Linked DNA regions of Homo sapiens: region 2 is linked to region 1. The links are contacts of gene promoters, found by promoter capture Hi-C in human tissues and cell types (Jung and others, 2019). All regions are on one chromosome and are shown on one strand. Each heading gives the region's core, a stretch centred on a gene start or on the middle of the fragment in contact. The rest is flanking DNA. Distances are from core to core; before and after follow the strand shown. Region 1 holds the start of CCDC13 (coiled-coil domain containing 13). Region 2 has its middle 59 kb from the start of TOPAZ1.

The links. Contacts are between HindIII fragments. The study calls those that stand out against the background at their distance.
Region 2: a fragment that was not itself captured here is called in contact with the fragment with the promoter of CCDC13 in region 1 in 1 of the 25 tissues and cell types used here (aorta).

Annotation. Positions count from the first base shown.
Region 1 is chr3:42,771,919-42,778,900 of GRCh38, forward strand. It overlaps CCDC13 (coiled-coil domain containing 13), which reads right to left and starts at 1,335. Exons shown (of 16, transcript NM_144719.4): 1 at 1,258-1,335. CCDC13-AS2 (CCDC13 antisense RNA 2) reads left to right here. Exons shown (of 2, transcript NR_122070.1): 2 at 1,287-1,717. RefSeq lists a silencer at 1,056-1,215 and an enhancer at 1,346-1,515. The HindIII fragment of the contact is 11,501 bases long and covers 1-6,982 here.
Region 2 is chr3:44,179,380-44,186,210 of GRCh38, forward strand. No RefSeq gene overlaps it. Among named protein-coding and RNA genes, the nearest start is that of TOPAZ1, 59 kb to the right of the region's middle. The HindIII fragment of the contact is 3,402 bases long and covers 2,200-5,601 here.

The sequences.
Region 1 (6,982 bases), core at 85-2,584:
AAGGAACTGTTTTTTGTTTAATGCTTCTAAAAATCTGCTTTAAGTCTATTTTCTTTTAAAAGTAAAGGCTAAGCCGGGCGTGGTGGCTCATGCGTGTAATCCCAAAACTTTGGGAGGCTGAGGTGGGTGGATCACCTGAGGTCAGGAGTTTGAGACCAGCCTGGCCAACATGGTGAAACCCCATCTCTACTAAAAATACCAAAATTAGCCAGGCATGGTGGCGGGCGCCTGTAATCCCAGCTACTCGAGCCCAAGGCAGGAGAATCGCTTGAACCTGGGAGGCAGAGGTTGCAATGAGCCAAGATCGCGCTACTGCACTCCAGCCTGGGCGATAGAGCGAGACTCCGTCAAAAAAAAAAAAAAAAAAAAAAAGTAATAATAAAAAAAATAAAGTAAAGGCTAGAGCTGCATGGAAAGAACTCTTGGCTCAGGTAGGACTTAGAGCCAGGGAGTAGGAAGAGTGGCATGCACTCTGGAGTCCTATGAGGAAGCAAGATCCCACAGGATATGGGACCATAGGTGACAGGGACCAGTGAGGAAGGATTGAGACCCCTTGCCCCATCGGCCTGCCACTTTTTTCATTGTTTTTCTCTTCCCCTCTCCTTCTCTTTCTTCTTTTCTTTTACTGTGTTCTTTTCGAGTATTCTCAACAACAGTCTAGGGGCCTGGAGGTGTGGGGAGGCCGCCCACGGATGCCTAGTTTGGCGCTCTGTGCACTGCTAGCATCTTCGTAGGGATGGGTTTGGGATGGGAGCGGGGTGATGCTCTGGTTCTCAGGGCTGGACTCCGGGCTTGGAGGGGAACTCCCTCTTGCGAGTCCCCAGTCCTGTGGGGGCTGGGCCTGGAAGGGGAACTGGGAGATGCGGAAGTGCACGCCGTCGGGTCGCATCTTTCAGTGCGGTGCGAGAGGGCCCAGTGGCAGAGGCCCAGCAAACAGCGCTTGTCAGGCGGACCTGAGTTCGAGTTCTGACTGTGCCATCTACGCTATGACTTTGGGGCAGGCGACCCACCCTCTGCGCCTCATTAACCCATGTACTGCATGGAAAATAAGCGTCTGCCTGGGTTAGAAGAGGGCTGTGTGTGAAGATTCAAAGGACGAAGGGGAAGAGTCCTCGCTGGGCGCCCAGCACGCGGTGAGCGCCCGGCCAGTGGCAGCGCGCTCGGGCTGGGGTTGCGCTCGGGCTCGGTTCCGCGCCCCCGGCAGCTGCGGGCTTTCCCAGCTCCGGCCCGGGCCCTTCCGCTCTCCCCGGCACTTACAGCGGTCTCTCTCCACTTCTCCCTTCTAGGACCGCGGCGGCTAGGTCACCTCCTCCGGACGCCGACACGCGCTGCCCTGGCAACCGTCACCAGGGAAACAAGCGACGTCACTTGCGCGTTTTCAACGCTACTCTACGGGGGCCGAGGGGGCGCCAAGAGTTCTGAAAGTGACAGAGGCGCTGATGGCGCGCTGGGCTGGATCCAAGCGAGCACGATCTCGAGTGCGCTGGAGATTTTAAATCTTCTGGAGTATATTTTTAAAAAAGTTTTGTGGACCAAACGTTCTGCACAGAGATGCCCATTCCGCTCTCCTGTTGGGGAGTTAAAAAGCGAACGATCTCACCATGAAATTTAAAGTAGCCATTCAGATATATTTGAAAAATGTAAAACAGTGTGGGGAAAGGCCATGTTATGATGGTGAGTGAAGGAAGCAGGACGCAATATAGCAATGCTAAATAAATAAAGTTGTGTTTATTTCAAACTAGGCACTAAAACAAGACCGAAATAGAAATATTAAAAGTGGTTATATTTGGGTGGTGGAATAGCAGTGCTGTGTTTTTATTTTTACACTTTAGAGAATTTTTAAAATAATGAACATCGTTTATTTTCATAAAGGAAAATACTTGTTTTTTTTTTTTTAAATGGCACCTTCCAATGTAAGACACTACTATATTTCAGGGCAATATGGGGGTGGGAGGCAAATTTCTAGGAAAGATGATTCAAGGGAGATTTCTTTCTATCTATCTATCTATCTAATCTATCTATCTATCTATGATAGAGTCTCGCTGTGTCGCCCAGGCTGGAGTGCAGTGGTGCGATCTCAGCTCATTGCAACCTCCATTTCCCAGGTTCAAGCGATTCTCCTGCCTCAGCCTCCTGAGTAGCTGGGATTACAGGCACCCGCCACCACACCTGGCTAATTTTTTTATTTTTAGTGGAGACGGGGTTTCACCATGTTGACCAGGCTGGTCTTGAACTCCTGACCTCAGGTGATCCGCCCACCTTGGCCTCCTAAAGTGCCGGGATTACAGGCGTGAGCCACAGCTCCTGCCCAAATATTTATCCAGGACTTCATAATTTGAAAACCTTGGCAGTTGTTTTTCTATTTTTTTTCCTCATAAGGTGAATGAATACCCATCCCATAGACATGCATACATAAGATACGGCACTAGACTGCCATCAGCACTGCAGGTATAAACCCGAAGTTTCCTGATAAAGGAAAAATGGATCTTTCCCGTTGGTCTCCAATTGCTGCCTGGTGAGCTGAGGGTGGGAGACGTATAATATACAGGTGGCAGCAAAGAGAGACAGGATAAAGAGTAGGATTCAGGTAGATGTGAGCCTCAAAGGATTAGGGTTTTTTTTAAATGGTGTGTGTAGTGGGGAGTATCATTCGTTTGCCTCATGACCACGATGGGACTATGTGGCATAGGAAAAGGAATAGCCAGGTCTACTTAGAGGGCTTCTGGAAAGCATGGATCCTAGCAGAAAGCCAGGTTTTCATTAAAATAAGAACATGCTGTGAGAAAATTAAGGATGCAAGAGAATTTCAGAACCGACATTCTAGAATGTATGTATTAGAAAGTTTGGGAAAGGGGTAACATTTGCTCCAGCAATCCAAGGATTATTTTTGACGAGGATATCATTTTTGCAGTAACCCATTTTTTAAAAAGCAGGGATGATTTTCCTCTAGGTTTGTTACTTTTCCACGGTCACCACTAAGGCTCTCATGCCATTTTTTTTTTCTGCCCAAAATTCTTTTGAGAATTTTCTTTAGTTTATAAGCTTGACATTTTATCATCCAAGAAGCTGGCGAATCCAATCTGGGTCACCAGTATTTCCTCATGTACAGTATACAGATGTTTGTTAATTCCAGCCCACTTTGTTTCTCTAGCCAGAAGTATCTGTAGGACACTGCCCTTTGTTTTTTGCTTTTTAATTTGAAATTATATTGAGATTTTTATAGAATCACATGCAGTTGTAAAAAATAATAGAGATCCCCTGTATACTTTTCCAGTTCTCCACAATGATATTTTGCAGAACTTTAGTATAATATTACAACCAGGATATTGACATCGATACAACCTACTCCTCTTAGATTTCTCCAATTTAACTGTACTTTTCTTTTGATTTATCACGTGTCAGTTTGTGTATCCATGACCATCAAGATATCAAATACTAGCCGGGCATGGTGACTCATGCACGCCTATAATCCCAGCATTTTGGGATGCTGAGGCAGGCAGATCACTTGAGGCCAGGAGTTCAAGACCAGCCTGGTCAACATGGCAAAATCCTATATCTACTAAAAATAACAAAAATTAGCCAGGCATAGTGGTGCTTGCCTGTAATCCCAGCTACTTGGGAGGCTGAGGCATGAGAATCGCTTGAACTCAGGAAGTGGAGGTTGCAGTGAGCTGAGATCGCGCCATTACACTCCAGCCTGGGCGACAAGAGTGAGACTCTGTCTCAAAAAAAAAAAAAGATACCAAATACTATCACAAGGATCTCTCTGTTGTGATTTTATGACTATGTACACTTCCCTCCCTCCTCCTGCCCTAGTCCCTAACCCTTTACAACCACCAGTCTGCCCTCCATTTCTAAAATTTTGTCATTTCAAAAATGTTATATAAATGAAATAACTCAGCATGTACACTTTTTAGGATGGATTTTTTTTTTTTTTTACTCAGAACAATTCCTTGGAGATTCATCCAAGTTGTTGTGTGTATCAATAATCCATTCCTTTTTATTGCTGAGTAGTTCTAGTATGAATGTACCAGTTTGTTTAACCATTTACCCACTGAAAGACATCTGGGTTGTTTCCAGTTAGGAGCAATTATGATTCAGCTGCTATAAACATTCATGTATAGGTTTTTGTGTGAACATAAGTTTTCATTCCTATGGAATAAATGCCCAAGAGTGCAATTGCTGTGTAGTATGGTAACTGCATATCTAGTTTTAGAAGAAATTGCCAAACCTGTTTTCCAGAGTGACTGTTCCACTTTACATTCTTACCAGAAATGTTTAAGTGACACAGTTTCTTCACATCCTTGCCAGCATTTGATGTCACTATTTTTATTTTAGTCATTTTAATAGGTGTGTAGTGATATCATTGTGGTTCTAATGTACGTGACGGATAATGATATTGAACATCTTTTTCATGTGCTTATTTGTCATCTGTATATTTTCTTTGGTGAAGTGTCTGTTCATGTCTTTTGCCCAATTTCTAACTGTCGAGTTTTGAGAATTCTTTATATATTCTATATACTAGTCCGTTGTTGGATACGTAGTTTGCAAATACTTTCTCCGAATCTGTAGTTCATCTTTTAATCCTCTTCACTTGGGCTTTCACAGAACAAAAGGCTTTGATTTTGACAAGGTCCAATTTATCAATTCCTTCTTTAATGGATTGTGCTTTTGATTTCAAGTCTAAGAAAGAACTCTTTGCCTAGCCCTGGGTCCCAAAGATTTCCCCCCATTTTTATAAAAGTGTTAGAGTTTTATGCCCATGATTTATTTTGATGTAATTTTTATATAAAGGTATGAAATTTAGATCAAGGTTCTTTTTTGCTTTTTTGCCTATGGTGTCCAGTTGTTCCAGCACCATTTGTTGGAAAGCTATGCTTCCTCCATTGAATTGCTTTTGCACCTTTGTCAAAAATCAGGTTAGCTATCTCAACAACAAAACCCAATTCAAAAATGGGCAAAGGACTTCAATAGACATTAATCCAAAGAAGATATACAAATGGCAAATAAGCACATGAAAACATGCCCAACATCACTAACCATTAGAGAAATGCAAACCAAAACCACGAGATACCATTTCACACCCATTAGGATGGATATTATCCAAAAAATGGAAAATAACAAGTGTTTGCCAGGATGTGAAGAATTTGGAACCCTTATGTAGAGCTAGTGGGAATGTAAAATGGTATATCCACTGTAGAAAACAGTTTGGTGGTTCCTCAAAAAGTTAAACATTGAATTACCGTATGATTTACAATTCCACTTCTAAATATATGCCCGAAAGATTTGAAAGAAGGGACTTGGCCAGACACAGTGTCTCATGCCTGTAATCCCAGCCCTTTGGGAGGCTGAGGTAGAGGACTGCTTGAGGCCAGGAACTCGAGACCAGCCTGGTCACCATAGCGAGACCTTGTCTCTACAAAAAAAGTAATAATAAAAAATAAAGAAGGGACTCAAACAGGTAATTGTATGCCAGTGTTCATAGCAGCATTATTCACGATAGCCAGAAGGTAGAAACAACCCAAGCAACCTTCAACAGATGAATGAGTAAACAAAAGGTGGTATATATACTCCACAGAATATTCAGCCTTAGAAAAGAATGAAATTCTGAATTCTGGATGAACCTTGAAAACATTATGCTAAGTGAAATAAGCCAGACACAAAATGGCAAATATTGTACGATTCCATGTATATTAGGTACCTAGAATGAACAAATTCATAGAGACAGAAAGTAGAATAGAGGATGCTAGGGAGTGGAAGAACGGGGCAAGTAGAGAGGTTTGGGGGTTTTTGTTTGTTTTTGAGACAGGGTCTCGCTCTATCGCCCAGGCTGGAATGCAGTCGTGCAATGACAGCTCACTACAGCCTCAACCACCTGGGCTCAGGTTATCTTCCCACCTTAGCATCCCAAGTAGTTGGGACCACAGGCTCGCACCACCACACCGAGCTAATTTTTGTATTTTTTGTAGAGATGGTGTTTCGCCATGTTGCCCAGGTTGATCTCGAACTCCTGGGCTCAAGCGATCTGCCTTGACCTCCCAAAGTGCTAGGATTATAGGTGTGAGCCACCACATCCAACCAGAAGTTATTCTTAAAGGGCATGGAGTTTCTGTTTGGGCTGATGAAAAGACTTTAGAGGTGGATGGTGGTGATGGTTACATAGCATTTTGAATATACTTAGTTCCACTGTATTGTACACTTAAAAATGGTTAAAATGGTAATTTTTATATGTATATTTACCACAATAAAGGTTTTAAAAATCAGCTGTGCATACTTGTGTGGGTGTAATGGCTTTTTTTCCTAATCCCTAAATTAGGTTCTCCCCACAGTTCCATGTAGTTCCAACTTTAAAGTGGGACTTTTACCCATGCTTATTTATCTTAATGATAATAGTCACCAAATATATTTCCCATCACTGAAATTCTCTCTCCCACCAATAAGTAAACATAACATAAACAGTGGCCCTACTCTTACTATGAGAAACAAAAATGAATTGAACAAAGTCAGAAGTGGGAATACCTGAGTTTTGACCTCATTAGTCAAGTCACAAACCTCAACTTTCTTCTTAAAACGGTAATAGTACCTTTATTATCATGATAATCAAATAGGTCATGAAAGTGCTTTGTAAAATGTGAAATTCTCTTCAGTTATCTTTATTATTTTAGTAGTCACATATATTAATTACTACAGATTTAGCTGTTTTGCCTGGTAATGGAAGTAAGTTCTGCTACAGCTTAAAACCAAGGCCTCATTTGGCTCTCTCCATTTCACAGCTCTCATTCTAGACCTCAGCTTTGCAGGCCCCAAATCCAATTTAGTTATTATACCATGAGTATCTCTTGGGGCTAGACTTACACCAGTCACGTGTAACTGACATACAAACCAGGAACACTAAGTCTCTCGTTTATATCTGTGGGTTGTGACCCATGTCCAGAGACTCTCCCTTCCCAGCATCAGGCACCCACAAAGCCAAAAGAGTCAT
Region 2 (6,831 bases), core at 2,651-5,150, 1.4 Mb after region 1:
GTCCCAGCCATTCTGAACTCGGAACATGTGTGGTCATAAGAGACGAGACTGAGTGACTGCTGCTGACCCCAGCTCAGGGAAGCCATGGGCTCTGAGCTCTTTCGGCTTTATGCCAGCTGGCCTTACAGCCCCTCAGGCATATGACTAGTCTTGATTCTTTAGGGCAGCTGCATCTCAATATCAATTATTCATTATTCAATAACAAATTTTGACAACATGCGACACCTGTACATAATCCTCAGATGGATTTTATGTTATCAGTAGCATATCATCCCAACAATTCTTTGAGTTAATGCTGCAAGAAGATCCTCAGCTATCCCTGAGGCTCAAGGAAATACTACAGAAGCAGCTGCTAACCTCCTTCCAGCTCACTTCCTGATCCCCATTAAAACATGTTGATACATGTTTGAGGTATTTTCTTATTCTTAATATAGTAATTTCCACCATATTTGTTGTACAACAAAATAAATATGCTAAAATACAGACAACCACTAAGATCTACATCCTCCAATGAAGAGTTGGGATTATTTCTGCAAAGCATGTTAACAACACTCTGCCCCATTCACAAATGTTCTGATATATAATATGGTACCAATTGTTCCACTCTTCCCTTCTATATTCTCCCCCCTCCCCACCCATTGTTTGCACATTTTTAATAGATATCGATAGAAGCATTCAACTCCATGGTGTCTTTTGGCAAGTTTTGATGGGAATTACATCAATTGGAGGTTTTAAGACTACTTCCCGAAACATCTTTTCATCCTGTTCATCCTGGAGATCATCTGCTACATTGGCTTGATTTTCATTTAGCTCTATACATGAAGCTAGAAATCTTTTATTATACTCTATAATGATTACAGAGATTAAAGTAATGCTTACTACATCATACATCAGTTAATATAATGGTGTCATTTCCCCAACCTTCCAAGCAAAAACATCCTTTGTCTCAAATATCACTTATTTTTCTTAATTGAGGTGGTCATTAAAGGCCACTGCTCAGTAAACTTTGAGTTCCACTGGTCCCAGGCCATGATCATACCCTTGCAACCAAGAAACAAGTTCTCACAAACCCAAGCTTCCAGGTTTCACTATACAGCACCACCCATCTGCCATCCCAAAGTTCCAGGGGAGCCAGTGGGATGGGGTGACCATATCACATAGGTATTCACCCTCGTGGACACCCTTCTGATTCCTGAATGCTTGATTGCATGGTTTTTCATCCACATCCACATCTGGTATAGTCAAAAAGCAAAGTGAATTCTGAGACACTGTGTAAGCAGTAAGATGCAACTTTTTTATATCTTTACCTAGATGCCACCCTGAATTACAACATTACAATGTATCAGCTGCCAGGTACATGCAAGTTCAAAGCTAAGGGCTACAAAAGAACCAATATCACAAACATAACCAAAACAAACAAAAGCTACCCAAATAATGATCCAGCCGGCTATCATTCAGGTTGACCAAAGGGCTATTGATTGGTATATTTTCTCTAATTAACCTAGTAAAATTCTAAACTATTCCTTGGGTCAGTCATGATCCTGTAGTTCTACCTACTTGGGAGGCTGGGGTGGGAGGACTGCTTGAGCCCAGGAGTTTGAGTCTGCAGTGAACTAACTGCGCCACTGCACTCCAGCCCGAGTAACAGAGTGAAACCCTGTCAATCGATCAAGCAAGTAATTAGCATACCTTGTATTCTAGCTTCAGTCCAAATTTTCTCAAGGGAAAGCAAATCCAGGGGCTTCTCCCAGAATCTGCCATGGTTTGGCACCACAAACACCTAACTGTATTATTCTCTTGTTCCAGGATGCAATTTTTTTTTTTTTTTTTTTTTGGAGACAGAGTCTCACTCTGTCACCCAGGCTATATACAGTGCAGTGGCACGATCCCAGCTCACTGCAACCTCTGCCTCCTGAGTTCAAGCGATTCTCCTGCCTGCCTCAACCTCCCAACTAGCTGGAATTACAGGCACCTGTCACCATGCCGGGCTAATTTTTGTATTTTTAGTAGAGATGGGGTTTCACCATGCAGGCCAGGCTGGTCTCAAACTCCTGACCTCAAGTGATCCACCCACCCCAAAGTGCTAGGATTACAGACGTGAGCCACTGCACCCAGCTCAAGATGCAGTCTTGAGAAGATAGTGACATCCTTTCCTGGCATCACCGTCTATTTGTGTGCTCTATCGCCATCTGTCACGATTTCCCCTTTTGCCCATTCATTGTCTGTCTCAAATCAGATAATGAATTTAGATCCATGGATTCAGCTACACTGCCGACCCCAGAGCAGACAGCAGGGTTAGGCTGGCCATGTCTTTGTCTATTCACAGGAAAGAGAAGGCAGGGGGTCAGACAAGCCAAGGATTATGGAACTATACATGTAGGCAGCTGGGCAGGATTTAGAGGCAGTCTTAGTTTAGACACACGAGGTAAAGTCACCAGTTCGCACTTGTCTTTGTTAAAAAGCACGATAAAATTCTAAGAAACAAATAGCACCCTGAGCAGTAATGTTTCCTGTCTGCATAATCTTTGCCCAAATTATTTCCCCAAATTGAACTGATAGGAACAAGTGAAGTAACCATCTTCAGCTGGTCATATGTGCTACTGGAGTTCTCCAGTCTTCCCTGCCTGCTTCTTTTGAAAAGGAGGTCATCATAATATCAATGTGAAAAACAACTTTTGATAGTAACCAAATCCAAATTGCTTCTCACCAGGTTGTGAGCATACATTGGAGAATTCAGAAATGCATACTGCATTTCTTCCTGTAAGAAAATGAATTGTGCCTGGCTTCCTTTTGAAATTCATACAGAAAAGCAAGCATTCGTCAAATCTGTCACATTTTCAATCTGTTGCACTTCCTAAATAGTTTTCACTGTGTCTAGTTTGGTGAAAAGCCATGATTGCCAACATTTGTCCCCAGGAGCCACCCACTTTACTCATAGGCCAAATAGGACTGCTATGAGCGTTGAGAGATAATCACTCCTGCTTCTTCCATTGATTAGAGCTGAAATTTTTAGTGCAGTATGGTTTAATAGTCAGTTGAAAGTGGGTATAGTGGGGAAGGGGATGGGGGAAGCTATAGTACTTGAGAAGTGATTTGCCAGGTCTGTTCAAAAGCAATGTGTTCAGTAAGCAGCCAGGCATATTTGACCTCCTCTGAGTTAAGGTTTCCTCCCAAGAACACTGGCATGGTGAATGTCAATAATTGTAAAGGGTCTGAGATTTTACCCTACTTGCAAGTTAACAAATTAGCCTGCCACCATTTCATGGTCAAAGTACTCCTAGATCAAAGGATTTAATTACTCGTGGAACAACAAGAAACATAAGCTTCATGTTTGCACGAGTTCCCCTTGCATTAGGTGGATGCTGCACTGCAAGTATCAAAGTCCCAAGGGGGGAAAGAAGTTAGCATACTTAAGAACGGAAAGAATACAAGTATGACTACAGCCTAGTCATCAAGTGGAGAAGTAGAATGATGAGATTAGCAAGATAAGCGGGAGCTAGATCTGCAGGGCCTGTGGATCATGACACGAAGTCGTGAATTTTATTCTAGAAGATGGAGAGCCATGAAACTCTGCAAAGTGGGAAATGCCATCATCTGATTTAGGCCTAAGGGAGATCATTGTGGTAGCAATATGAAGAAAAGATATAAGAAGGTCAAGAGTGAAAACTTTAGTCCAAATGAGAGTTGAGGGTGGCTTAGAGTAGGAGATGATAGAAGATACAAAGATGTAGATAGATTCAGGACAATGTGGAACTTGAACCAACAAGTCCTGTGCAGGGATTGATGGGGAAAGATTCTGCTGTGGGAGTTAAGGAAGAATTGAGGGTGATGTCTAGATTTCTGGTATGAAAAAAAAACAAACATACAAGAAGCAGATAGGAGATGAGGTATAGGCAGCCAGAGGAGCATCATAATAACTCCTTTTGAATAAAATATTTTTGAATTGTCTATATTTTGGCATATTAGAATTTGGAGTATATTTAAAGCTACGGGACTAGGCAAGATGACCCAGTCAATGAGCAGAGAGAAAAGATCAGAAAAATATCATGGATATGTGGGCAAAAATTTGGCAATAAGAGTAGACATCATGGTGTTTATTGTAAGAGAACAGTAGCCTAAAATCTATTAATAGGAGGCCGATTAAACAATGCTACGCCACCAATTTAGATTGTGTTCCATGTTGTATTTACTCACATAGAAAGTGACTCATAATTTTAAAAGGGTTACTAGGGTACATAGTTTGATCCCATTTTTCATTCAAGCAGCTCTGTACATGTGCATAAAAATTAGCTTAAAAGAGACATACATTAAAATATACACCAAAATATTAACTGTAGTTCTGAATGGTTATAGATTTTTCTGTTTCTGCATTTTCTAAATCTTCAATGAACATGTATCATTCATATAACAAGAGAAAAGCCAAGAAAAAATAATCCAGCTCCTCACAGCTCATCTTTGGGACTAAATCCTGCTTCTAGAGACTTGCAGGCAGGTATTAAGCTAAACCTCAATTCATCAGGACTGTCCAACTCTGTCTTACTTCTTAAGCATCATTTGTGTAGCCTGTAGTTCTGAACCTTGGCTACATATTAGAATCAGCTAAGGAACTTATATTTCTATGCCAGGGACCTACCCCTAAAGATTCTGACTTAAGTGAGCTGGAAAGTGGCCCAGGCATAACATTTGTGTGCCCTTGATAATTCTGATGGGCAGGAAGTGTTGGGAACTACTAGTAAGCCCTAGCTTGGTCTCCAAAGCACTGTTCTGAAGTTTTAGAAAGGAAAAGCAGCTAGAGAAGGAATAATTGTGGAAGAAAGCAGACCTGGAAATAATGGATGAGAGAGAAATTAATGAAGACATAAAATTCCAAGAGGAAAGGTTGAGAACTCCTCCCACCTCAAAATAGCTTTTATTTCACACCAGGCACTAGTTAGCTGCAAAAATCTGATCCCTGCACAGAAGTTGATAATAAGAGGCCGTTCACAAAGCTGCTGGAGCAGGTGTTTCCTCCCGAAAGGGGGCGGGCCAGAACTGTAAATCTCATTTTGGAAGTTTCGAGCCCTGGGGATACTATTCTGTGGCGCTGCCACTCTAGCTGCCATCTGGACTGAATCTCAGCTCCCGTTTCTGGGGCAGCCCTCGATCCAACTGGCAGCCCCACCGTTTGCATTCTTGCACAGTGTGTGAATGGAGGGGGAGAGCCTTTGGCTAGGCAGCCCTGGGGTCTCCTTCCCTCAAAAGATTCGCCAGTGATCCTTGCCCTGCTGGCTTCCTCTTTAATTGGCACACACTGTTGGGGAGCAATTGAGATTAAATGGCCGCTTGCTGGGTGGCTCTGAGAAACGGGCTGTACTTCTAGGCATGTGTGGCCCTGTTTGGAGCATTTGTTGTATCCTAGGATTGAATGAAGCAACTGCTGCTGCTGAAGCTCACTCGCAGGGTGTTCCTGCAAGCCACGTGAAAGCAGGCTCTTCATTTTGGTTTGCAAAACAGCCTCCAAAGCCAAATCTGCTCATACTGGAGCCATTCTAGACACAGGGATGTCACGAGGAGAAACTAGGAGGTACAGAAAGAACTGGGCAGAAGGAAATTTAGGGCTATGAGTCAAGAAAATGGGTTATACAATTGCCGGGTTGCCCTGAACAGCCAGAGAGAGATAGGGAAAGACTCCACTCCACGGAGAGAACTCCCAGAGGTCTTGCAATTCTCTAATGATCCTGGGCAGCTTCTGGGGCAAAGGTCATCCCTGGAGAATCCAGAAATTCTGTATTCTGGATGCCAAGGCCTAAACCTGGACTTGCTGACTATGACTTCAGGCATGCTGCTCAGCTTACTGAGTCTTCAGATCACAGGTTCTGCAAAAGGGTGACTGGGAAGCATGGGAAATCAAAGGTGGGCTTACATCTTCTCCTGCGAGTGTTCTCAAAAGTGAGCTTCAGGAGTCCCGTTCAGCCCCATAGTGCAGAATGGATTGGGAGACCTCATTTTGATGGAGCCCATGGAAATGCCAATCTCTTGGCAAACCAGAACCCGACCATTTCCTTTCACCTGCGCAGTCACACCCTAGCCTCCTGTGAACTCCCTGGTCTCATCTCCTACTACTTTCTCTCTTGTTTACTTTGCCCCCTCCTACACCCTTGCCCCAGGGCTTTTGTACTTGCTTCCCTAAATCAGATAAATATTGGAGAGTAAATTGAACTTCTAGCAGAAAATTTCTAGATGAAATTAGCTGACAGGGCCAATTGCTTTTTAATGCCCTTTCTAGTTTTTATTACGTAGATGACATGGTTTTCACTTCCTTCTCTTTGTATCCAGTTTAGCCCAATGTAAGGCAATCATTATATTGAAAGGGGCAGCATCCAGGACAATCAGCCTGTAAGAGGCAAGGTGACTACACAAGAAACTAGAGCAAGGGGCTCAGACTCAGGTCTAGCAGGTAGAAGAGCAAAGCAGGCAGGTGCAGACAGTGCCAAGCTGGAGACAGCGGGACCCACCTAAGGAAGGTGGCTGCTGCAGCACCAGCCAACTATTGTTCCATGGGAATGTGGGTCTGTTGTTCCTAGATATGACTTTTCAGTGCAAACCAGAAGCCCAAGTTTATGTGAAATGCCCGTTGTTAAATGCTGACAATGAATTCAAATTAAAAACAAGAAGTTTCATGGGTCAAACTATATCTTCAGGACAGATTCAGCAAATAGGCTGTCAATTTGTGATCTCTGAATTGATGCTGAGCAGGTTAAAGAGAATAAGCAATGAGGGAAAGGGAGTTCTATAAAATGCTGGATGAGGAATGATGATCTCTGGAGCTTGAGGTCAGGGAATAAAGGTGTC